Regions from separate parts of the Homo sapiens genome. Here regions 1, 3, 4, 5 and 6 are each linked to region 2. The links are contacts of gene promoters, found by promoter capture Hi-C in blood cells and fetal thymus (Javierre and others, 2016). All regions are on one chromosome and are shown on one strand. The core of a region is centred on a gene start or on the middle of the fragment in contact, and the rest is flanking DNA. Distances in the headings are between cores, read along the strand shown.

What was found. Contacts are between HindIII fragments. The CHiCAGO score rates a contact against its expected background, and 5 or more counts as called.
Region 1: a fragment that was not itself captured here is called in contact with the fragment with the promoter of SFT2D2 in region 2 in 2 of 17 cell types (naive CD8 T cells and neutrophils); the score reaches 6.4 in naive CD8 T cells.
Region 3: the fragment with the promoter of SLC19A2 here is called in contact with the fragment with the promoter of SFT2D2 in region 2 in 1 of 17 cell types (naive CD8 T cells); the score reaches 5.2 in naive CD8 T cells.
Region 4: a fragment that was not itself captured here is called in contact with the fragment with the promoter of SFT2D2 in region 2 in 1 of 17 cell types (total CD8 T cells); the score reaches 5.8 in total CD8 T cells.
Region 5: a fragment that was not itself captured here is called in contact with the fragment with the promoter of SFT2D2 in region 2 in 1 of 17 cell types (naive CD8 T cells); the score reaches 5.2 in naive CD8 T cells.
Region 6: a fragment that was not itself captured here is called in contact with the fragment with the promoter of SFT2D2 in region 2 in 1 of 17 cell types (naive CD8 T cells); the score reaches 8.1 in naive CD8 T cells.

Annotation. Positions count from the first base shown.
Region 1 is chr1:169,356,761-169,360,717 of GRCh38, forward strand. The region is part of intron 1 of NME7 (NME/NM23 family member 7); the gene reads right to left. Among named protein-coding and RNA genes, the nearest start is that of NME7, 9.1 kb to the right of the region's middle. The HindIII fragment of the contact is 4,025 bases long and covers 1-3,564 here.
Region 2 is chr1:168,223,213-168,227,529 of GRCh38, forward strand. It overlaps SFT2D2 (SFT2 domain containing 2), which reads left to right and starts at 2,792. Exons shown (of 8, transcript NM_199344.3): 1 at 2,792-2,930. The coding sequence starts at 2,868. RefSeq lists a silencer at 2,459-3,088 and enhancers at 2,713-3,446, 3,749-3,828, 3,949-3,998. The HindIII fragment of the contact is 4,334 bases long and covers 1-3,604 here.
Region 3 is chr1:169,483,335-169,487,707 of GRCh38, forward strand. It overlaps SLC19A2 (solute carrier family 19 member 2), which reads right to left and starts at 2,610. Exons shown (of 6, transcript NM_006996.3): 1 at 2,229-2,610. The coding sequence starts at 2,432. RefSeq lists enhancers at 2,015-2,074, 2,617-2,911, 2,715-2,964, 2,747-3,667, 2,975-3,044 and a silencer at 2,255-2,434. The HindIII fragment of the contact is 10,248 bases long and covers 309-4,373 here.
Region 4 is chr1:169,464,317-169,468,665 of GRCh38, forward strand. It overlaps SLC19A2 (solute carrier family 19 member 2), which reads right to left. Exons shown (of 6, transcript NM_006996.3): 4 at 4,328-4,349; 5 at 3,795-3,936; 6 at 1-1,661. The coding sequence ends at 1,533. Among named protein-coding and RNA genes, the nearest start is that of SLC19A2, 19 kb to the right of the region's middle. The HindIII fragment of the contact is 4,671 bases long and covers 765-4,349 here.
Region 5 is chr1:169,313,596-169,317,953 of GRCh38, forward strand. The region is part of intron 3 of NME7 (NME/NM23 family member 7); the gene reads right to left. Among named protein-coding and RNA genes, the nearest start is that of NME7, 52 kb to the right of the region's middle. The HindIII fragment of the contact is 4,282 bases long and covers 791-4,358 here.
Region 6 is chr1:169,382,178-169,386,300 of GRCh38, forward strand. It overlaps BLZF1 (basic leucine zipper nuclear factor 1), which reads left to right. Exons shown (of 7, transcript NM_001320973.2): 6 at 1-104. Among named protein-coding and RNA genes, the nearest start is that of BLZF1, 16 kb to the left of the region's middle. The HindIII fragment of the contact is 9,513 bases long and covers 1-4,123 here.

The sequences.
Region 1 (3,957 bases), core at 302-2,801, 1.1 Mb after region 2:
CAATGACGGAGTTTCCTACTTCATTTCCAAATGCGTTCCAGTAACTTTAGGGAATCAATGTTGACATTAATATGCATAAGTTTAATTTTGGATTTATACATATTCACATGTTAAAGAAAACCTGAAGCTCAGTGAATGAAAAATTGCAGAGAAAAAGCAGTAAAGTCAACTAATCTTGTTTTTAATTAGCGTTCTTTCAGTCATTAGCCTCTCTTCTGTGTTCCCACATTCAGTAGGTCTCTATCTTAACACTTGGAAATAACAACAGCAGTAGTAACAGTAATAACAGCAAACATTTTTTGGATGCTTACAGTGTATAAAGCATTGGGCTAAACAGTTTATCATTTAATTATAATAATATCCCTATAAGGGAACTAGTATTATTATTATTATTATTATCCTCATTTTACAAATGAAGAAATTGAATTTCTCTAAGTTAGTATTACAATGTTACAGTGTATCATGTATTTCTCTTCTTCTCTTTTTTCTTCCTCCAAGACTGTGAGCTTTTTAAAAAAGAAATCTAGTCTTGTTCATCTTTGTATCTCATATATATAGCATGTTGCAAGAACCCAAAAGTGGGCAGAAAGATGAGTTCAAGAGCCTCTGCTCTATATCTGAATATAAATGCTTATTATGTCAAGTTTGATTCTAGAAGTGTTCTAATAATGCATGCCACAACCTAGGTGTTAAGGGTATTGGGAGACAAGATAAAATCATCAGGCCAATACTAATTTTTATGTGGAAATGCTAGAAAAAGTGATCATAATATTATAGAAGCCATTCATTCTTTGCATAAAAACTTGAACATTTTTAATTATGAAAAATATTCAGATATCTAAGATAGACAGATATTCACCTTTTAGAGATCTCAGTGCATGCAGTAAAATCCAATAAGGTACCTAAAAGGCAATATGGTTTAACATAAATGATAAAACTGTACTTGCCACTAGATGAAGGGATTTTCAGTTTTTCCAGAGCCGAATTTCTGAGTCTAAGTGGCAAGAAACAGACTGGGTCTGAACGGTCTCATTGTACTTTCACAGTCAAATTACTGAATAATAAAATCTCACATGACCAGCAATAAAAGTAAATGTTCCCAGCTAATCCATTTAAATTGAGTAGATATTCAGGGATCTCACACCTAATACCTGCTAAATACATATCACACATGTTTAGCTGCCCCTATCCACAAAAGTATATGACCATTATTGAAACTGGTCTCAAGACCAATCTCTGCCATTTCCCTCCCTTTTACCAGCTTTTTCTTATTTCCATTAGGAAAATGAATCTATAAGAGAAATTTAGGAAGAGGGAATTTAATATATAAAAGTAAATTTTTCAATAGCCACAAAATTGCATAACACCATTAACCTCAAATATTTATTTTTGAAGGTTGATATTTTAATCTCTTCCATTTTCCTCAACTATCTTCTCATTAGGCAGCAATCTGGTTAATATGAAAATAACACATTTCATATGTATATTACAGTTTATAAATTACTTTCATATTAACTTATTTGATCTTCACAAAAAATGCTTTAAGGTAATCTAAACAGAAAGTATTATTTTGATTTTATGGATGAGAAAATAACTATCCAAAAAGATTACATAACACACAGCTCATAAGTGCTTAAGCCAGGACTGGAATAAAGACTGAAATTTTAGATTTCTAGCTCTACATCAGTTTGTTTGTACTTCAACAAGCTACATCTTGAAAATAAGTACACAAGAGAGGACTGGAAAATCTGTCTACAAATAATAGTTAAAAAAAGGCCAACTTAATATTCTTCACTACAGTCAGACAATAAACCTTGAATTTTAACAATTTATAATAGATGTAAAACAATAATTACAAAGAAATATTGTAGGTAAGTATTAACAGTGCCTTTCATCTATAGAACATACAGTAATTTATATTTCTCTCAATATTCTGAGCAAAGCAGGTGACAGTTTTATTAAAAGTTCAAATCTATTGTTAGACATATGTATGTAATGTATAGAAATACCAGTTTAGAGTTTAGAAGAAACAGGCACCATGGTATACTGCTAGCAGAGTATTCACTGGCAAAACTATTTTGGGAGTAGTCTGGCAATGTATATTGAAAGCCTAAAAATGCACATGACCTCTCGCACCTAGTTATTTCCTTTTTAATTTATTGTAAGGAAATAATTATGGATGTCTATAAAAATGTGTTCGCAAAAATATGTTAGTATTGTGTTAACAGAACAAATTAATAAATGGATTGGTTAAATCAGAGTAAATGAAAGAATAAAACGTAGAGCTGTCCCTCAGTATTTGCAGGGGATTGGTTCCAGGACTCCTACAGATACCAGAATCCTTAGACGCTCAAGTCCCTTACATACAATGATATAGCATTTGCATATAACCTATGCATATCCTCCAGTATATTTTAATTCATCTCTAAATTACTTACAACACGTAATACAATGCAAATGCTATGTAAATACTTGTTATAGTGCTTTGTTTTTATTTGTATTTTTTATCATTGTATTGTTATTTTTTTTTTTCAAATATTTTCAATCCTCAATTGGTTGAATCTGGATGCAGAACCCATGGCTACCCAGGGCTGGCTGTAGTTCTTAAAACTGATCTGGAAAAATGCAAAAGATATATTAAGTGGGATAAAACAGATTTCTAAACAATGAATATAATAGAATCATATTTTAAAGGATATGTATCTCTGTGTGTGTGTGTATATATGTATGAGTATATATGTGACCAGGATATTACACAAAAATATTAATAGCGATTGTATACAGGCAGTGTTATTATAGATAAATGTAATTTTATTACTTTTACTTTTATATTTTCTCATTTCTAAAAATGACTAAGTAATTTTCCTATATTTCTACAACAGAATAAGTTAAATATCTTTATAAACATATATAAAACATATATAGCATATATATGTATCATGTAAATATTGAAACTATGGAAAACAAAGGATAAAAGTTGAATTTACATCTATCAGAGAGCTCTAGAGCCATTATGTGTGCATATGAAGATACATTTTAAAGAGTATAGAAATATGAAGAAGGCACAGCACATAAGATGAGTCAGGAGAGAGAACAACAGCAACTTATTAAGGCAAAGTGTCCAGTATCAGAAAATAAATGTGAATTAAGCAGTACATTTTAATAGCTACAGTTTCTCACATCTAATTAACAGAAAGTTTTAAATATTGACAACTTTGGAAGTGAAGAAGTTTAGGCAGTTTTTGAAAAAAATGTGAATACAAAGTTCATTGGGAATGCTGGAGATACTTCTGGAAAGTAAGATACTTCAATCATATGCTATAGCAGCATCAAGAAAGGTACTAGGTGAAGATCACAGCAGCAAACATAACTCCCATGTTGAAACTATAATGCATACCCATCTGGAATATGTAGCTCTGCTCGCCACACCTTAGAGTAGATATTATAGAAACAAAAAATAAGTCCAGAAATGGGAAAATAAATTATGAAATGGCAACTATAAGGGATGAAATTAGGAGTCTCTGAAGTTCAAAGACAAAAGAAGCTCAGAAAAATATTTCCCAAAGCTTATAAGATCATAAATTTTACAGATAAGATAAAAATAAGCACCAAGAGACCAAATTAATATGGCAAAAGTTTAAGGCAAATCCAAGGAAAATAAAATATTTTGATGGAATAGGTAAAATATATAAGATGTATAATACTACTGCATTTAGAATAAAATCCAAAATCCCTCCCAAGTTCCATAAGTCTCAGTATTCCTGGCTCCTTCCTGCCTCTCAGATCTCTTCTCCTCCAGCTGTCCTCTCATTCCCTAGGCCCCAGCCACACTATCTCCCTCCTGTTCCTCTAATGCACCTCTGTGCTCACTATTGACTCTGCCTGGAATGCTCTTCTCCTAGGTTTCACCTGGCAAGCTGCTTTCTATCATTGACATCTCAGCTTAAAAGTCACATC
Region 2 (4,317 bases), core at 1,542-4,041:
GAGTATGTGAGAGAAAGGAGAGAGATGAACCCAAAGAGGAAGGTATGTGTTGCTGAGAAGTCAGCAGCAATTTATCTGTAGGTGGTAGGGAACATGGGCATTAGTTTCCTGCAGCTGCTGTTACATATCAGAAATTTGGTGGCAACAGAAATGGATTCTCTCACAGTTCTGGAGGCCAGAAATGCTGAAAACAAGCTATTGGCAGGACTATGCTCCCTCTGGAGGCTCTAGGGGAGAATCCTTTCCTTGCCTCTTCCAGCTTCTAGTGGCTACTGGCATTCCTTGGCTTGTGGCTGCATCACTCCCATCTCTGCCTCTGTGGTCACAGTGCCTTCTCCTCTTCTGTTGGTGTCAAATCTCCCTCTGCTTCCCTCTTATAAGGATATACATGATTGCATTTATGGCTCACCTGGATAATTGTGCATAATCTATTTTAAGATCCTTAATTACCTGCACAAAATACCACCCCCACTCCACTTTTCACTGTCTAAGGTAACATGTACACTTTCCAGAGATTAGGACATGGGTATCTTTTGGGGAACATTTTTCAGTTTACCACACTGTGGGAGATGTTAAGCAGGGCAACAAATGAGTCAGACTTATGTTTACAAAGATCCTTCAAGGGATGGTGTGGCACAGTCAGAAAAAACCTTCTGAAGACATTGATTAAACCTTCCTCATTCTTCTGTGTTTAATGACTACTTAGTATTCTTGTGAATGAATGTACCATAATTTATTTAAGCACTTCCCTCATTTATGAACTTTTAAGTTGTTTCCAATTTTTTTCTATTACAAACAATGCTACAATGAATCACCTTGTAATGGGCCAATTGCACAATGTGCAAATATAAATGTAGGTAAATCAGGAGCCCATATTCTGGGTTCAGACTCAGACACATTGGAGAAAGATAAGAGTGGATGCCTGTTACATTTTACAATAGATAATATTAATGGATTGTGAAATATATACTGAGCACTGTTCTAAGCATTTTTGAAATGGCTTTATTGCAATAGAATTCATATGCCATACAGTTAATTCAAAGCATACAATTCAATGGTTTTTAGTATGTTCAGAGCTGTGCATGCAACCATTACCACAATCTAATTCCAGAACATTTAAATCACCCCATTAGTCTCTTACTACCATTTCCCCTCCTCCATCCCTAGGCAACCATTAGTCTACTTTCTGTTTCTATGGGTTTGCCTATTCTGGACATTTCCTATAAATGAAATCATACAATATATGGTCTATTGTGTCTAGCTTCTGTGAAAGGGAAATATCTTGGGCCCCCCCAAATTACTAAAGGGAAAATTCAAGCTGGGAACTGCTTAGAACAAATCTGCCTCTCATTCTATTCAAAGTTATCACTGTGTTCACTGAGATAAATGCACATCTGATTGCCTCCTTTGGAAAGGCTAATCAAAAACTCAAAGGAGTGCAACCATTTGTCTCTCACCTATCTGTGACTTGGAAGCCCCCTCCCCCCTTGAGTCTTCCTGCCTTTGCTTCGAGTTGTCCCGCCTTTCCAAACACAACCAATGTACTTCTTACACATATTGACGGATGCCTCATGTCTCCCTAAAATGTATAACACCAAGCTATGCCCCAACGACCTTGGGCACATGTCGTCAGGACTTCCTGAGTCTGTGTCACAGGTGCTGTTCCTCAACCTTGGCAAAATAAACTTCCTGGTTAACTGAGACCTGTCTCAAATTTTCGGGCTCCACACTTCTTTCACTTAATACAATGTTTTCGAGGTTCATCCACGTTGTAGCATGTGTCAGTACTCCATTCTTTTTTATTGCATGGGTATGTCACATTTTATTTACCATTAATCAGTTGGTGGCCATTTGTATTGTTTCCACTCTGTTGCCCAAGCTAGAGTGCAGTGGCTTACTGTACTGACAATCATGGCTTACTGCAGCCTTGACCTCCTGAGTCCAAGCCATTCTTCCTCCTCAGCCTCGCAAGTAGCTTGGATTACAGATGCCCGCCAGCATGCCTGGCTAATTTTTAAGAATGTTTTGAAGAGATGAGGTCTCCCTATGTTGCCCAGGCTGGTCTGGAACTCCCGGGCTCAAGCCATCTTCCCAAAGTGCTGGGAATACAGACATGAGCCACCATGCCCAGTCTACTTTTAGTTTTTTTAAGGTCAGAAAAAAAAACAATTGTACAAACACAAAACAATTTAACAATCTATTATTCCTTTCAACATTCCTTCAGTCACTTTTTTTTTTTTTTTTTTTGAGACAGAGTCTCGCTCTGTTGCCCATGCTGGAGTGCAGTATCCTGGTCATAGCTCATTACAGCCTGGAACTCCTTGGCTCAAGTGAGCCTCCTGCCTCAGCCTCCGGAGTAGCTGGGCTTCCAGGCACGCCCCACCACACCAGACTAAGGCCTTGAGTGATTAAAAAGAAAATCTTTTCCTGTGTAGGCACGATCGCAATATGGATGAACCACAGCCTTTGTTCCCGTCTGCACAAGGCTTCTCCCCCGTCTTTGTGTCTCCGGAGCCTTGCACGTGGTAGGTGCTCGGCATTCGTTGACTGGATCAAGTAGGGCGAGGGAGCGCGGCCCGTTCCGGTTTGAAACTGCTCTGGACGCCGAATTAGTGTTTGGCAGCGCCTGGTGGTCTTCAATCCCAGCCCCTCCGGCCCGCCGCGCCCCCCGGGACCAAAACAAGCGGAGGCGAGCGCGGGCGCGCGGGGCATGCCGGGAGCCCCCCGGTGGGCAGGTGCCTGGGCGGGGCGCGCCGCGGTTGGCGCCTGGGCGGCTGGGCGGCTGCCTAGCACCCGGAAGAGCCGTCAACTTAGCGAGCGCAACAGGCTGCCGCTGAGGAGCTGGAGCTGGTGGGGACTGGGCCGCAATGGACAAGCTGAAGAAGGTGCTGAGCGGGCAGGACACGGAGGACCGGAGCGGCCTGTCCGAGGTGAGTGAGCCCGGGGCCGTCGGCCCCCTCTCGCCGCGCTCCCGCCCTGCGTCCCCTGCCCGGGCCTGGGAAGCCTGCGGGGACTCCCTGGAGTTTCTGGACGGTAGCTCTGCCCCTTCTCCTCCTCTTCTTCTGCAGGGCTCCGCGAAGAGGTCTGGCACTACACGGGGCAGTGGCCGCGGCGTCCTTTTCTGCCCCGCGCCCCTTCAGCCCATCCTCCCTGACAAGGGGGCGGCGCAGGAGGAAATCCCCGGACTGAGCTGCGAGTGGGAGGGTGGGCGACTGGGCTGTCGGCCCCGGCCCCACCGGCCGGGGAATGCGCTTTAGGGCCGGGTAGGGCTGGGGGCCCCGAGGTCCAGGCGGAAGGAGCCTTTGCTGGGTGGGTCGGGGCCCCAGACCCGGACTGGGGTGTTGGGGTGGCGGTCCCTACCTCGCGACGGGGCTGGTGGCCGCGCCCCGAGCTCTGCCTTGGTTTTCTGTCCGGTTTAGGTTGTAGGGTGTGACACTCCCACCCGCCCCTGTACACATTGCCTTGTGATTGGGGGTGAGAAACTGCCCCCATCCCATGAGGACAGGGACCACATCTTGTGTCTCTGTCCACACTGCCCACAACTAGTCTCTAGACACCCAGCGCCTCAGGAGACTGCCTGCGTGTTGGTTTGTTTTATTAGAAAAGCTTTTTTTTCTTTTTTTCTGAGACAGAGTCTCACTCTGTCGCCCAGGCTGGAGTGCAGTGGCGCGATCTTGGCTCACTGCAGCCTCTGCCTCCTGGGTTCAAGCGATTCTCCCACCTCAGCCTCCCAAGTAGCTGGGATTACAGACACCCGCCATCAAACCCGGCTAATTTTTGTATTTTTACTAGAGACGAGGTTTCACCATCTTGGCCGGGCTGGTCTCGAACTCCTGACCTCAAGTGATCCGCCCACCTCTGCCTCCCAAAGTGCTGGGATTACAGGCATGAGCCACCGCGCCCGGCCTATTAGAAAAGTTTTGATCGTGCTGAAACCTGGCCACTAATGTCCTATGTTGTAGAACCACACAGAATGCTGCATTTCTATTTAGGGTGCTTTTAGCTTTTGTTTTCCTTTTTGGATGACAAAATAACGTTTCTCTTCGCTTTTTGGTGTATTCTTTAGCCTCCGTTCCCCATCTGTGAAATGAGGATGTTAAGATGATATGGCCAACTGGAAACTAATCAGTGTTTCTTCTGGTTTCTCAGCAAGTTCTTCTTTCTCAGCAAGCTGCTTTCACCCACGTTTGTGGTTGCTGATTTTATTCGGTTTTGTTTTGTGTGATACTGGGACTTAGCATGACATCTCCGAATGTAAGATTGCTCTCTGAATCTTCACCTTGAGGGAGTAATTCTATGGGATCGAATGTTGGAGTC
Region 3 (4,373 bases), core at 1,360-3,859, 1.3 Mb after region 2:
CAAAAAACAAGCATTCAGTAAGTAATGAATAAGTTGTTCTATTTATTTCAATTATTAGTTATACAAAAAAACGTAGGGTTTGCCACAAGGTAAGCAGAGGAGAATCAGCCATGATTTGGTGGTCCTCTGAGAAGACACCCCTTCCCCAGACTACTAGATTTCTCTTCAAATCCCACGCTTTTCCTCAACTAATTTGCAATAAGAGAAGTACACTTATGTTTTTTGTTACACAATCAGCAAATAGTTACTACGCCTGGCAACTCTGCTTTATTTCTGTGCCCCCTGAACACACTTCACTCACCTTGAAAAGCTTTCTGATAGGACAGAGCACATGATCTTGGTAGCACGTCACACAGCAACCTTCTACCCAGAGCACATGACAAAACAGATCAGCTTTCAAATATCAACACTGGGAACATGTTTCTCTCCCTGTGTTTCACTATCCGGAAAGGCGCACAAACTGTGCAGATCACATGGCAGTTCACATGAAACTTTAATGGTCAGCTGTTCACAGCAGTATCAATTCTGCCTCAGTGGCTACACCTCAGATTCAGTGGTTGTTTTGGGTCTCCAGAATCATACTTTCTCATATCAGTGCAGTAATTTTCTTGTAAAATCATTCTGTCATGAAATTTGGCTGTTTTGACATTATTGCTTTAAATCAGTATTAAAACTCAAATAGGTTATGAATAACTGTTACGGTCGCTTATGTAATGATCCACAAGACTGAGAAACGGCCCAGCCACTCCATCCCACAACTGGCAGGTCAATAGGGTAATTTAAGGCCAGGCAAAAAGTCAGTGATACTTGCTAGAAGTGAACAAATGTCAGACTCTCAAGTGAAACCCTCAATACGTAAGTCAATACTGATTCTTAATTCTCTCTCAAGTGCCCTTGAAAATGACGGAGCATTGCAACAAACAAACTGCAAACAACAAACTATGAGTAACTATATCTCGCCAGTGTGCAAATGATTCCGGTAGTGCCATCTCTTGTTCTGACCTGTTATGCAGGGTTACTGAGTGGCTACTCAAAAGAAGTGACTGACTACTACCCACATAGAGAAGAGTAAGGTTTAAATGGGAGGAGTATTTTACAGCACCTGGGGCAAGGAGGCAGGGTGGAAGGAACAGGTGTAGGAAAAAAGAAAAAGCTCTCAAGTGGCCCCTTGACTGATAGTAGGAAAAAGAACATGAGACCTCAGCTTTCACCCTTTGTTGTATTCAAGGAAGAGGGTGTTGAATCGGCTTTATTTCGGTTTTGTGGAAGTACTTTGGGTTTAATTTCTTTCTCAGTTTATATATTGTCTTTCTTCTGCAAAAATCAAGTGCTGGTTTTGACCATGCACTTAAATAGGTCAGCACATTTCTAAAGTACACTATGCGCTTCTGAAGTACTTTATTTGTAAGCCCTCATCTAGGGAAAAAATCAATCAGCAAGAAACTCTTGATGATGGACTACGTGCTCTCAATTACCCTGAACATCACAGAAGGCCTTCAAAGACATCACCTTGTATCTGAGAAGCAAAACTAACATCTGTGAAGCAACAATTCGCAATACAAGAAACACTATAATTAAAAGTCAATTATGTTTCACCATCTGCCTTTATCCCTGGAGGTTGGTCTTAAGGTAGAGAGGGGCAGGATATCCTTGGACACAACCTCACCCAATTAAAAATCAAGACAAATTAAGATGTTCTGTACTTCTGTCCTGTCCTTACTTGATTAAGCCCACCCATTCTGCCAAATGCAAACAAAGTAAGGTATGGACAGGAAGCAGGTGAAGGAGGTAGAGGGAAGATCCTTTCAGAAAAGCAGTGGTTGCCTACTTTCAGTCAATGAATATTTACTAAGCCGTGTCCAAAGTACACTTTGCTGTTTTCACTTCTTTGTCAAAATATTGCCCCCTCGCCCCCAGCAGGAACTGCTGGACCAGTCTGGGCAGTCACGCTAAGCCACATTACAACACGATCAGCATACTGCCTGACGCACAAGGCACGGGGCCTCTGGACGCGTGTTCTGAGCCCTTCGCAGGAGACTCGTCCTACAGAGCCGAAGAAAACAGAAAATCATGAACACAAAGAAGAGCACGAAGCCGACCTCCAACTGGCAAAATCAGAAATCTCTGCCGAGAATGGCTCGAGCGCTTTTCTCGGTCCTCTCTTCCTCCGCTGCCCACCCGCAGGCCGGTCGCCCGCCCTTCCCGCGCCCCGCGTCCGCCGCGCGTACCTCCCTCTCGGTCAGGTTCTTGTCCGGCCCCAGCAGGTACGGGGTCAGGAAGGGCTCGGACGGCCTGAGGCTGGCGAAGAAGCCGTAGGCGCAGAGCAGCGCGGTCGGCAAGAACCAGCATTCGCGACGGACCCGAGCGGTCCGCAGGAGCACAGTGGCCGCCGCCGCCGCCGCCCGCCGAGACACCGGGCCGGGCACATCCATCCGGGGCGCGAGGGGAGGGGACCCGGCCCGGCCCCTTCCTTCTCCTCCTCCGCCAACTGGAGTGAGGGTCAGGCACTTGTAACCGCGAGTGACGCCTTCTCCCTGTAAGGCCAGGACGTTCTGGACTCGCCGCCGCCTCCGGCTACAGAACCCCCAGCTTTACCCTACAGACGCCTCTAGGGTCGCTGCCTGATCGCCCAGTTTAAGGGAGACCCGTCCTAAGGCCCACCCTCTGCCACCGCCTCCACTCCGGGAACCAATCACAGCGGACGCCGGGAATACTTGCCTGCTCTTCCATTGGTCGTGGGTCACACGACGTGAACTGGGGCGGTGGCAGCACGCCAGGCCTCTGACGTCCCAGGGCTCAAGCGCGGAGGACATGTGGAACTCCACTCCAAAAGCGGCGGCTTGCGGCGGAGCTCTCTCTAGTGAGGCGGCCAGCTGGCGTTCGTGGCACACTTGCTGTCGGCTCCGCTCATCTGTTGGGAATGCGTCCTGTGGGCCTAGTCCTCCGCTGGAAGAAACGCGCTGTTCTCCCCAACCACCGTTTATCATTCTTATTCACCGTCTCCGGAATGTCCATTCAGTTTCCGCTCCTGAGAGACTTAGTGACTGAGGCCAGGCAAAGATTTCACCTTGGGGAGGGGGAACGTTAAACCTTTCCTCCAGCAGCTTTCGTGTTTTAAATTGTATTCATCCGCCATGGAAAGACATCAGAAGCCCAGGATCTAAGAGACAGACTGAAATGAAGAAAGTAGATAATATTGTGAGAATAATGAACAAGCTGGTCACTGAACAGCAGAACCGTAATGGAGTCCCAGTTAAAGGGTTTTAACTTTATTTCGTCACTTTTTGCAAGCATGATACAAAGAAAACAAACACCTAACTACGCTACGGTTTATAGTTAAAAGGAAGGTGGAAGATCCTGAGTCATTACAGCAATCACAAAACATGATGGATTTCTTCATTTAAAAACACAAAAGAGGTCTTGGCATAGTTTTCAAGGGCAAAGCATGACAAGACTCTCCAGTGCTTTCTTTCATCCCCCTCTGTGTGCCTTTTTCTGCCTGACTCACAGCCTGGCTCAATCCTAATCTTTCTACTGCAAAGATGCAGCATTTAAAGCAATTTTTCCTGTGCAGTATTTGTAGAATGACAGATCCTGCCAGAAGCTCTTGGAAACATTTTGGAACTATCTTGCTTTTCTGTATGTTATGATCCATCTAGCACCGTTTTCCTCCTGTGGTAGCAAATGACACTTTTTTCAAGCATCAGCAGCAGAAATGAGTCTACCAGATGGAATAAGATACTGGTAAAGGGAAAGATTTGTTTCTAAGACTGCACAAATGAATGCACCCAAATCTGTGAGTTGATTAATCTGTGAAGAAATACAACTGGCAGTATTTACATATCTCAATGAGTCTCAAAGTGTGGTCGAGGAAGCCCTGGGGGTCCTTGGGACCCTTTCAGAGGTTCCACGAGCTCAAATCTATTTTCATAACCATGCTAAGTCTTTATTTCCTTTTCCACTCCAGAGGCTATATAATGTCTGATGACATCATCGCTTTATAGGATGAGAGAATACGTGCTTGTATATTCTTGTGTTTGTAAGACTTTCCAGGTTTAATTTATTACCATATGGCAATTTTCAATAAGTATAACCCACAAAACCCAACAGATTTTTGGGGCACCTCTAACAAGGGTCCTAAGACCAAAATGTTTGAGGACTGCTAATCGATATTATTCAATTGTCTAGTCCCCTAAACTCCAACCCTTCTTATCAGGACTACAGAGAGAAAACAGGTGGTCTTCTTGACAATCGCTTTGTATTTACATTCAGTGCTTTAGTAGAAGAGAAGAAAGAAAGAGAAAGCAAGCCAGAGAGGCCTCGGAAAGAGAAGCCTACTTATTAAAAATAGCTTTCTGGCTGGTCACGGTGGC
Region 4 (4,349 bases), core at 1,850-4,349, 1.2 Mb after region 2:
AAATGAAGGTTGCTACTTTTATGATATCACTTCCCTTTCCCTTCCTTAGCTAGTGTTCTTTTCCTTTCCCTTAATAGTAAAGGATGGTGAATAGAAAATGACCTATTCTTATCCCCATCCATTTGCTTCTAGGATTCCTGCTTAAACCAAATGAGTATGTCGACTTTGCAATCTTGACACACTATTATTAACACTGTTCAGCTGTGTCATTCTAAAAAAGTTAATACCCCAGTTAAAAGCACCTATCTAGATTCTTTTCAAGATAAGGCAACAAAGTCAGCTTTAAAATAGTTTTCATGTCTGACATATACTAGCAGCCCCTTGGTAGACTGATTTCAGAATTAAATGCATATAGAACATTTTTTCAAGTAACTTGGTAATGAAATCACTAGCAATTTTAAGCAAATATTCAAGATGATCTACCTTTAGAAACAAAGGCAGATTTAAGGTAAAAAAATGCAGGAATCACATCTATCCTAGTTCCTGTCCCATTGAAATAATTGAAAAGAGGCTCAGTTTATGAAAAAGGCCTTGGACTAATGCAATTCCTATTGACATCTTTACTTGGATAAGAAAAACAAATTAATATAAAAACTATAAATAGGGATGAAATTATTAAAAAAAGATTTTTCATTTTATTTTGGAAATAAAAGGGAATACAAATACAAATGGCCTAGTTACATCTTTAGCCTATATATGAACTTTTAATCTTGGAATTAATAGTCCTTCATATTGAAGATTTAAAGACAAGCAAGCGTACCTTAAGCTTTCTTAAGTCTCTTCATTTAGCAGGCTTCAAAACTTGCCTTATTTTCTAACTAAATGAGCTTCTCTGGGAAGCATATGAATAATGCAAAAACGTACTTCTAAACAAATTTTACAGAAATAAATAATCGTCACAATGGGAACCAAGAACATTCATATGATGAATTTTTTTAAAATAACTTAAAATTAGAAATGATACGTACACCTTAAAATACAGAACACTAAACCAGAACAAATATTGCCAGTGATAGAATAACTATGTAGAAAGACCAATGTACATGAGTAACACAGAAATAAGAATTAAATTGAATAGAGGCAGATGCTGTTAGAACATATTTCCATCCATCATGACTTGCAACATTTTGTGGCCTCTGTGGAGCCCTGGTCCCACCAGGCCAAGCATCTGGCTAAGTAGATACAGACATATGTGACCTATAAAACACCAAACTCACTTGCTAATGAAGTATACAACACCATGTGCTGCTTTGATTGCTCTTGACTGGTTTTTAAAATCAAGTTCACTTTTGAATCAGAAAAAAAGTCATCCTTAAATTAGCTCTCATAAATAATCCATGAAATAAACTTTACTTCTGGCTCCTCTGAATAGTATCATGTTATTCCCGGAACACAAGGTATTAGTCAAGTGGCTGCTGTGAAGTCAAGAAATGCACATTCATAAATATATGTCTACGCTTTAAAAAATCAAACACATCCAGGCAGTTGCTGTGCAGAGTTCTTGCTATAAGAAGAAGCCCTTCAGCAGTATATTATGAAGTGGTTACTTGAGAACTTGATTGTGGATCTTCCAGCTTTCTACATTTCTTCATAACACTGACTGCACCACTGGCCAGGAAAACCACAGCGATGAGTGCAAAATAACTGGCATAGATCAAAAACTAGAAGGGGGAAAAGCAGTTTATTGAATTATCAATGACAAGAGGATTACTCTATAATAAAGTATATTCAGAATTTGTCCATAAAGCCTCAAAAAATATTGCATACTTACACCACGTGCCAGACCCTGAAGACACAAAGCAGCATCACAGCACGGTGGTACTAAATAAAGCCTGACTGCCTGAGTGTGAATCCTGACTTCATCCCTTACAAGCTGCGTGAACTTGATTGAGATACTTCATCTCTGAGCCCTTCTTCACTTACAAAATGGAATTCATAGTAGTTCTCACTTTACAGCGATGTTGGTACCCATCAGTGAGATCATAAATGCTTATTAGCACAATGCTAATGCTGTTAGTATTACTTTTATTGTTGTTGCTGTTATTGTTATAATTCAGTCCTGGTCTCTGCCTTCAAGCTGATAGGTGGGTACAAATAGGCCAAATTCTGAAGATCAAGAACTTCTCTATTTTTCCCCAGAAGAGGGCAGCGGCAGGTCAACTATATTCCATTACAGGATTACTTAATGTAAGAATTCTTCCCTAAGACAATTTTTTTTTTTTAAGTTCTGGGGTACATGTGCAGAATGTGCAGATTTGTTATATAGGTATACGTGTGCCATGGTGGTTTGCTGCACCTATCAACCCATCATCTAGGTTTTAAGCCCTGCATACATTAGGTATTTGTCCTAATGCTCTCCCTTCCCTTGCCTCCCACCCCCCAACAGGCCCCAATGTGTGTTGTTCCCCTCCCTGTGTCCATGTGTTCTCATTGTCCAACACCGACTTATGAGTGAGAACATGCAGTGTTTGGTTTTCTGTTCCTGTGTTAGTTTGCGGCGGATGATGCCCTAAGCGAAATTTTAATGTGACTATATGGTTTATTAACATCATCATCATCATCATCTTCTTAAAATAACATACTAAATACTTACAAACTGGTTCAAAAGTACAATGAGAGTATGGCCTTAAATCACTGAGCCAGTTTCTTTCAATGTTGGCTACACTTCTGCAGGAAGCCATTAATCAATCATGGCAGTTAGGGTTTCAGCACCACCCATAAAATCCTATTATTCCACGTGTTTAAATCCACCATTTCTATAAGAATCTGCTGACAAATTTCCACTTCCAATGACAGCCATGTTTCCCTCAACTGTAATAGTCCTGGGAACTCTCCCTTATACAGGGAGGATGGCAAGCACTTAAGTTTCTCTCCTACTTTCCATCCTGAAATAAGTTTTGGGGTTAGATGTTGGTTTAACTCTAAGCTCTGGAACACTACTAGTGATGGTATGGACAAGTCACTTAACATCTCTCAGACTCATCTTCTTCATGTCTAATACAGCAACCCTACAAATCCTATATAAAGCACTTGACACGTAGAGGCACTCAATGCACATTGTCTATTATTACTATTTCTCTCTTAGATCGCTTCAGTAAAAACAAAGTTAATTACGGCTAATATGTTGGGAAGAAATCATTTGGGTTGGGATGGGGGTGGGAGTAAATACTTCTTGATTCATTCAGTTGCCCATTTTACCAAAGTACAAAACAAGATATACTTAAAACTCACAATGCATGAAGGCATATACAACTATACAATTCCTGAACGTAAAAAGTATTCACATTGTTGTTGGGTGTTGGTGCAAGTTTCTCAATAGTCATAAGTTACAAATCATAATGTTGTTCATCAGCAGCAAGGCATTACCGTGGTATTTGGGTGAGGGGTGTTTTAAATAAAGAAGGGAGGAGACTTAAAGAGTTGTGAGATGAAGCAGGGAATCTCAAACATGGGATACAGTATTCCAAGCATAGATTTAAGTATAGAGGGAAATAATGGATGAGGAAGCAGAAGGTCTTGGTCTGTAAGGAATCAATATTACCTCTCAGCTGAAACAGCCCCATTGGGCTGATGAGTTACACTCGGGAATGTTCTAAGACCTGACAATCCCAACACCCTCCCAGGAGAAAAGAACTAAGGATAGGGGAGAAGATGTTGAATGAAGGAAGGAGGGTATGCTTTTACTTTACATCTGTTCCCTATTGTTTGGATTTGTTTTCATTAAGCATACATATACTTCTGTCACCCTGATCAAGTCACACATACTACCTTCGATGCCAAAGGAGAGATCTTACCTGAGTGGTAATTTCTAATCCAAGGCCACTGGCATCTACCACAATTAGAGTGAGCAGCGTCTGCAGTGCCAGGGCAATGAAGGTATTTACACCAAATACTAGGGCATAGCGTTCCATGCTGAGGTTTGCAGCAATTTGAAAACTTAAAAAAAAATAAAAGAGTGAATAAATAAGAATTACTTCTGGAGTACTTATAATATTTATTCTAAATAAAAGTAAACATTTATCTTTAAACATGAAGAGTCCTTCTTTCTACTGTCAATTGCCTTTCCAACCAAATGAAAACATTCTGCAACTAAATGATATAAATCTCATGCAAACATCTGAAAACAGTAGGAACATACAAACATGGGAATAAACAAAACTTGCCTAAATGCTTCCTCAGGAGAAAAACTGATAATGCACATATAATACAATGCTTCCTCCCATTTGCCTCATTTAACTAGAAACTTGAATATTTTGGTTTGTAAAGAAACCAAAAAATTTATCCTGTTACAATTTTTCCTAAGGCTTCTATGAGCCAAAATACATACGTTGCTATCGTGATGAGTAACA
Region 5 (4,358 bases), core at 1,682-4,181, 1.1 Mb after region 2:
TCTCACATATATTATTTACATATATGCAATACACCCACACATACACACATGGCAATCATATAGAAAGATAATCACACAGACACATACACACATACAGGGAAAAGGCCAACATGAGGGAAAACCAGGAGAAACAACAGAAAAGAGAGAGACCCACAAATACTTCAGATACTAGGATAATCAGAGAAAAACTGTAAAGTATCTGTGCAAACTATGGTTAAAGGACTAAAAGACAAGCTACAAAACATTATCAGGTAATAGAAAACTGTAAGCTACAAAATGGAATAAGCAGATCTGAAAAAGAATATATTAGAATATCTTGTGATGAAAATACAATAATGAAAATGAGAACTAGATAAAGGGTTTGACAGAAGAAAGCAGATTCAGAATGAAGCACAGAGAAACAAAAAGATACAACAGAGATAAGAAAATAGTTTCATGAATGTAAGTGAAATAAAGACATTTTCAGATGAGTGCAAACTGAGTTTTCTATTAGTAAACACACTCAAAAGGAAAATATTTTTTAAAAATGTAATTTAAGCAAAGGTAAAATAATCCCAAACAGAATGTTTGAGATAAAAGAAAGGATAAAAAGCAAAAAGTGAAGAAACCTAAATGAATACTCATTACATAAAACAATAATAGTAAATCATTAGGTTCATGGAAAAAAAACAAAAAAAAATACACAACAAAAACAGCATATAATTCAGCAAAAATCCCAACAAAAATTGAGCTAAAGTCTTCTGAGATTCTTAGATTTTAAAGAAGGAGGTTAAAATATTAATTAGATTTAAGCTTTATCAAGTTAAGTACATATGTTGTAGTTTCTAGTGTAAATACTAACTGTATATAGAAAAAAAATAGATGAAAAAAATCCTCAAGCAATCCGAACAATCAAAAATAAGATAATAAAACAGGCAGGAGAAGAAAGCTCAGGATAAGATGTCAGAGTTAAAGCCAAGTATATTAGTAGTTACGTTACAAATAAGTGCTCTACAGTAGATGCAGATTATAAAACTGTATTTATAAAAAAATTTTTTTAAAAAGATAATCTGATTGGATTTTAAAGCCTAGATGATAGGTTGAAAGGTGCAGCAAACCACCATGGCACATGTATACCTATGTAATAAACCTGTACATTCTGCACACGTATCCCGGAACTTAAAGAAAAAAAAAGATATAAAAAACAAACAAACAAAAACAAAAACTAATGAAAGGCACACATAGAAGAGAATACTGAAAATCTAAAGTAAAAAGAATGGAAAAGGTATACCATGCGAATGTTAACTAAAAGAAAGCCAGTGCAGCTATAGTAATATCAGAGAAAGTACAGTTTAAAGTAAAAGGCATTGCTAGAGATGAAGATGGTCTCTTCATAGTAATAAAAGATTCAATTTACCAAGAAGATATAACAATTTAAATCACCTAGTAACATACCCTTAAAATTATAATATAAAGACTAACATAACTACAAGAAGAAATAGACAAATGATAATTACATTAGAAAATTTTAATAAAACCTTGGCAATTGATAGAATAAGCTGCCCAAAAATTAGTAAATATGTGAAAGATTTGAACATCACAATTCACAGACTTCACCTAATGAATAAATATATAAAACTATACAAAACAACTGCAGACTAAACATTCCTTTCTTTTCTTTCTTTCTTTTTTTTTTTTCTTTTTTTTTGAGATGGAGTCTCGCTGTGTCACCCAGGCTGGAGTGCAGTGGTGCCATCTCAGCTCACTACAACCTCCACCTCCCGGGTTCAAGCAATTCTCCCACTCAGCCTCCCAAGCAGCTGGGACTATAGGCACACGCCTCCACGGCCGGCTAATTTTTGTAATTTTTTAGTAGAGACAAGGTTTCACCACATTGGCCAGGCTGGTCTCCAACTCCTGACCTCAACTGATCCACCCGCCTCAGCCTCCCAAAGTGCTGGGATTACAAGCGTGAGCCACCACACCTGGCCTAAACATTCTTTTCTAACACACATAGATCATTAATAATTGACTATTCTAAGCCAGAGGCAAATCTTAACCAGTTTGAAAGGCAAAAATCATGAAGAATATGTCCTCTAGACACATGCAATTCAGCTAGATTCCAATACAAAAAGAGAAAAACAAATCTCCGTATGTTTGGAAATAAACATAATTCTAAATAAATAATAAACCAAAGAAGACAACACAAAGAAAGTAAAAAATGTTTCAAACTGAATAAAAATTACATATCAAAAATAATAGGATATAGTTATAAGCAGTTAGAAGGAAATTTATACCCTTAATTGCATATATTAAAAATATTAAAAATTGATAGAATATATAATTCTGTAACTACTAATAGCAGAAAAGGGGAATAAAGAAAATTGGTCAATAACCATCAACTTAGAATTGTGTGTCTAGCAATAGTATCATTAAAGAAAGAGGGTAAAATAAAAAACGTGCAGATTAAAAAGAAACGGGTAGTTTACAATGAAGAAATGAAGAATAACAAGAAGAGAAAATATTCTAAAAGGACAGGTTGATATGCAAGAAAAATTGGTGAACAAATGTTTAGGTAAATCTAAGCAAATGTTGTTTCTATCAAAATAAATAAATAAATAAATAAAAGAATGTCTAACATGCAGGCAAAAAAACTGAATGTCCAAAAACAACAATAATAACAAAACTATGTAAGATTTAAGAGAGAAGATTAGAGCTAAAGTGTCCTAATCTTGTTGTATGAGTTGGGAGAGAGCCATATTATTATAGAACTGTAAGTTAAATATATGAAAAAATTTCAAGCCTAACCAATAAAGAACAAGTATAAAAATCACATAACCTCTAAAGCAACAGAGAATATAGTAGGCAGAATAACACTACCCCTCAAAAATGTCCACATTATAATCTCCAGAACGTATAAATATATTACCTCACCTGCCAAAAAGGACTTTGCAGATGTGATTAAGATTACAGGCCTTGAGATAGTAGAGATTATTCTGGATTATTCCCCTGGGCCCAATCTCATCACATGAGTCCCTAAAGTCAGAGAATCTTTCCTAGCTTTAGAGAACCAGAGAGATGTCAGTGTGAGGAGGACTCAAGCCTGCTATTGGTGGCTTTGAAGATGGAGAAAGGTGGCCCCAAACCAAGGAATGTGGATGGCTTCAAGATGTTGGAATGTGCAAGGAAATTGATTCTTTCCTAGAGCCTCAAGAGAAATGCAGTCTTATCAACACCTGATCTTTACCTGATGAGATCTGATTGGACTTCTGACAGAACTGTAAGATCATAAATTTGTATTGTTTAAGTGACTAACTTGGTAGTAATTTGTTATAACTTCAATAGAAAACCATATAATAGAAAAAAAAAACTGAAGAGAGGAAGAAAAATTTCTTCAACTAATCCAAAGAAAAGGCAAGAAGAAAAAAATAGAAAAACAGGAAAACAGTAAAATAGAAACATATACAAAAATAACAATAATCACAGCATATTTCAATGTACATGTATTAACTTTACCAATGAAAATATAACCATTCCAGATTAAATTGAAAAAAAACCTATATGTTATTTACAAGAGACATATCTAAAGCATAACAGGGCAAGTATAAAAGAGATGGCAAAAAGATATTAATTAACCCAAATACGCTATCAATCAAACCCTTTCTAAGGAAAGATGGCTCAAGCTGGAGCTGAAAAGGAAATTCAACTCTAATCTGTTAACTGACCAAGGACCATATGACTGAGAATTGTAGAATGGAAAGGCAGAATTCTTATTTTACAGAAAAAAATATCAATTTCTCCCTGGGAATTTAATAATGAGAAGGCATTCTTCATTGTATTATTTGGGAGGCAGTTACACTGTTGTTGGGTCTATCGTATAATCAATAGCATGCCATCTTAGACAACGATACTATAGATAAGTAAAGATGAGAAAAAGATTGGGGGTGAGTTTTTAGCAAGGCCTCTGTTACTGAACTAAGGTATTCCTCTAAGGCATTAGGGTGCCCTTCTGCAGCCAAAACTCAACTGCTCACCACTGGTCCTAGGACAATATACAAAGCAACAGTAATTGGTATTGAGGGAAAGGTTTCCCAAAGGTGAGAGCAAGACTAAACTAATATTCATCTGGTCTGTTCCCCGAGAAGTAGCCATAGTCTACTAGAGCATGGCAGCCAATTGGCTTAAAGGTATAAAACCCAGAAAACAACTAGGAATGTGTACTCTTGCTCCTCATGAGTAAAGTAACTTCTATCCCTGTTCCCATAAGAAAGTGCTCTCTCTCTCTACTTCTTCCATTTGCTTCTCCATGTCCGGCCATATTTAAGGGTTTCTGGTTATTTGTGGCCCGACCTCTTTTTTCTCAGACCTGCAGACCCTCA
Region 6 (4,123 bases), core at 261-2,760, 1.2 Mb after region 2:
CAGTAAATTCTCATCTTCTGGGAAATGTTGGCATTAACAATCAAAAAAAGATTCCATCAACAGTTGAATTCTGCAGCACCCCAGCTGAGAAAATGGCTGAAACGGTAAAATATTTTCTTTTGTGATCTATGGAACTTCTAACACTGTCCTTTTACTGAAAGGTGACATATCATGGAAAGCATTTGGCATTAGGAATTAGGAAATGTGGGATCTAAACCACTCATGCTATTGAGTGTGTTATCTTGGAGAAAATTATTTCCTCTTCTGCGCTTTAATATTTTCTAACACTACTGTTCTATTTTTAAGGACAAAAAAAGTAATTGTTTTGAAAGAGGTCCTATGTTTTAGCTATTAAGTCACTGATAATCCTTTTCATGAGTTCATTTTGATATAAAAACCACTGTGTAGAATTTTTAATGTAGATTAAATTAGTAGATTCATAGATTACTTCTGATCTAAGAAATTACTTAATTTCCACATATAGATGGAAATGTATCAAATACTACAGTACAGATAGTATAGTCCTGGATGAATTCAGGGTCCATGCAGCTGGCTTGTCAAATACTCATCTCACATGTCTGTGACAACAACCAAGTTCACCTTCGTTACAACTCTCATGTCCCCATCTGGGTCCCTGCCTGTCGCCATAACTCTTGCACTATTAAAATCTTCAACTCAACATCTCTGTCTCTGTGATCTGTGATCTCAACTTTTTTTCTTTCCAACTCTGATTCTTCATTCTGACTCCCTGGATGTGAACACATCTTTGATCATATAATTGTTTTTATTCCCTTGGTCCCTATATTTTTTTATGTATCTCATCAGCTCACTCTTTTAGTTTCTCTTCCCACATAGCTTTCCTAGACTCTATTCATAAGTGCCTTACTGCCTTATCTTCCTCTCCGAGTATGCTGCAAACCCCAGTCCTGTGTCAGTTCAGCTGTTTGCCTTTTTATTTCAGTACCCATCAAATACTACCTCACATTCAGCAGATGACTTTCCTTCCTAATCCACAGAAGAAAAAGGGGACAGAGGCAGAAAACTGCCTGAAGGTTTCATTAGATATCTAGAAGCCTATCTGTATGGCAGCATACATTTCTCTCAGAGGAAAAGGTGTCCTTCCTCTTCTCCTAAGCATACCTCCCCTCTAGGCCCTGGCTTCACCCTCAACAGTTATTCCTTCTCTCTGTTGGCTCTTTCCTTTTGGCTTAAGAACATGTCCAAGCATCATTCATCTAAAAAAGAAAAATCTTCCCTCTATTGTAAGATGTCTGGATATGGCTTTATCACCTTCCTTTCACATCCAAGAATCTTGGACAAGTTGTCCAGACATGTTTGTACTTAAACACCATCCATTCCTCAATTCCTACCGTCACTTAAATCTGTAGACTTCCTGCCCCACTATTCTCAGTAAGTACTCTTAAAAAGGTCATGAACATTTACTATCATATTATACTGTATCGAGCATTCCTTCCTGGAAACTCCCTTGACCTTTGTAACATCACTCTTTCTTGGCCCTGATGCTACCTCTCTGAGCTCTTCTTCATAGACTTTTTTCCTCCTTTAGATGTTCATGTTTCATAGGAATCTGTGTTCCCCTTTTCAAAATCTCTTCGTTCCTAAACACCATACTCTTGAAACGATTCACTACTTTTGTGACCATTGTTTCTAAGTTTTTGAGGGGGAGGGGCATCCTCTTCCTGTGACCCCTCTTGAGCTTTCTTTACATAACATACTTTCTCTATTCTCTTGGTGTTATTCTGTTTACCATAGCTTTATGCTTGTGACTTTTCCATCTCAGACTTTTTTCTGAGTCTGAGAGATTTATATCCAGCCAGGTATTTCCATCTACTTGTTCCACAGATGGCTAAAAATATAATCTCTTTTCTCCTTGCTTTTGCATTTGTACAACCCCCCACCCCTAAAAATCTCCTCCTTTTCCTGTATTCCCTATCTTGATGAATTATACCTACTCTATAGTGCTGTTTTCAGATTTCGATAAAAAACACATATAAAGCCTGCAGCAGTTTCCAATATATTGTAATTTCTCAATAAATGGTAGCTATCGTTTTTACTATTTCCTTCATTCCCCTAGTCCTGTTGATTTTACAGATCTTACCAGTTTTTTTCTAATTTATCCCCTCCCAAGTTCAAACACCTGACTTCCAGCCTAGCCCACTGCAGTTGCCCCCTCACTGATATCCCTGCCCTCCTTCTTAGCTGCTCCTGCCCACCCACTACTGGCAGAGAGTTATTTCAGAAGGCCAAATCAGTCATCAAACAGTTCCCAGTCTCCCTCATTATTGAATCAGAATTCATTCATATTGTATAGAAGGCTTTTTATAATCTTTCTTCCATCTCCCCTTCTCAAGAATCATTTCCCAAGTGTCACTACCCACTGCACTTAACATTCCAGCAGGGTTTAACCACTTTTCATGATGCACATAGGCCATTGTATCTCATGCCTCTGTACATACTTTTTCTTGTCTGGACTACCCTCCCCACACCTCTTTTGTTGCCCAACCTCTGTACCACCTTTAAGAACCTGCCTTCTCTGAATCTTGCTGGCAATCTGAAGTGTTCCTTCTCCATCCTTCCATTGTACTTTGCACTTATATCTGTAACTGCTCTTTACTGTATTAAATTATAATAGTTTTATTTTCCATCCCTCTCCCAAATTGTAAACTCCTAAAGGGCTGGGGACTTTGTGTTTTTATGTTTCCTCAAGGTCTGGCATAATCCCTTGCACATACTAAGTGCTCAGCTATTTACTGAATGAGTCAGTACCTAAAATTAATCATTTTTATCCAAAATTTTGTTTCTCCTTTTCTATTCTCTTTGTTGGGAAATTGTGTCACTGCCTACTTAGTTGCTGCCAGTAGCATTTGGTATAGTTGACCACTCCCTCTTTCTCGAACTATTCTTTCCGAGGTTTATATAACTTTATAGCTTACAGGCTTTTCTCTTTTATCCAACCATTTTATTTCACTATACAATGTTAGGTATCCTCAGGGCTTGATTTAGATCCCCTTCTTCTCCCAGACCTTTATCCACCACATTCTCCTATTTAACAAAACTGACAGCCCTTCTTCCTTAGTGTCTCTTAAACTTTTCAGTCCCATTGCTTCAAGGTGCCATCATTTCTTAGCTAGATTATTACAATAACCTCCCTTTTTCTGTTCTTATGTCTGCTTATGCATACTGCTTCCCCCATCCCCCACACTGTGTATAGAATGATCTCTCTGAAAGGCACCCTGCATAAAATCCTTCCCCATCACTTTCAGGCTAAAATACAGAAACCTTTCTGTTCATATTAGTGGGTCAGTCTCCTGCTCCTGAATTCCCTTAGCATTTTGTTTCTCGCTCTATAAAGACCTATAATGTAATAACATCTTTATAGTATTTGAGAACTTATTTTCTCCTCTAAATTTATAAGCAATGTTAAGGTAAGCCCTTCATCTTTGCTTATCCTCTAATACCAAACAAACTTCCATAAAAATAGAAGGATCTCAAAAACTAAATTGAAAAAGCAGTCTAGTTGAAAAATAGAGGTGCTAAAGTAAGTTGATGGCTCTTAAATGATGCCAGGACATTCTTAGAGTAGTGATGGCTCTTTGGGTTTGGTGGTAACTTAGAAGGGAAAAAAAAAATCTGCAGGACCACATGACCGCTAGGGAAACAGGCATCACCAACCATTCCAGAAAGCTGCTTTGAACAAGCCTTATATAAGAAAGAGAGAAAGCACTTTTCCCAATTCATTTCAGAATTCTTTCCAATTGCAGTGCTTGCTACCTTTGTACCATAACCCAAACACATCATGTGGTGATGACTGGGAAAATAGGAACATGAGAATCAAGAGCTGTGAGCCAGGCACGTTATCCCTGCCCTTAACTGGAGAAATTTTTTCAGCTCAAGAGTTCCTGTTTTGGGTCTCAGTAAAGGAGACAGATTAGGAAAAATCAGAGCAGAAGAAGAATTAGGAGAGCATTGTGTTGTGGAACCCAGGAAACAAAAAGTGGCTGTAATCATAAAATACTGCATATAAATTAGAAAAAGAGAAATGAAAAGCCATTGATACTACAGATAAAAAGTTATCAAGGATTTTGAAATATCGTTTCCATAG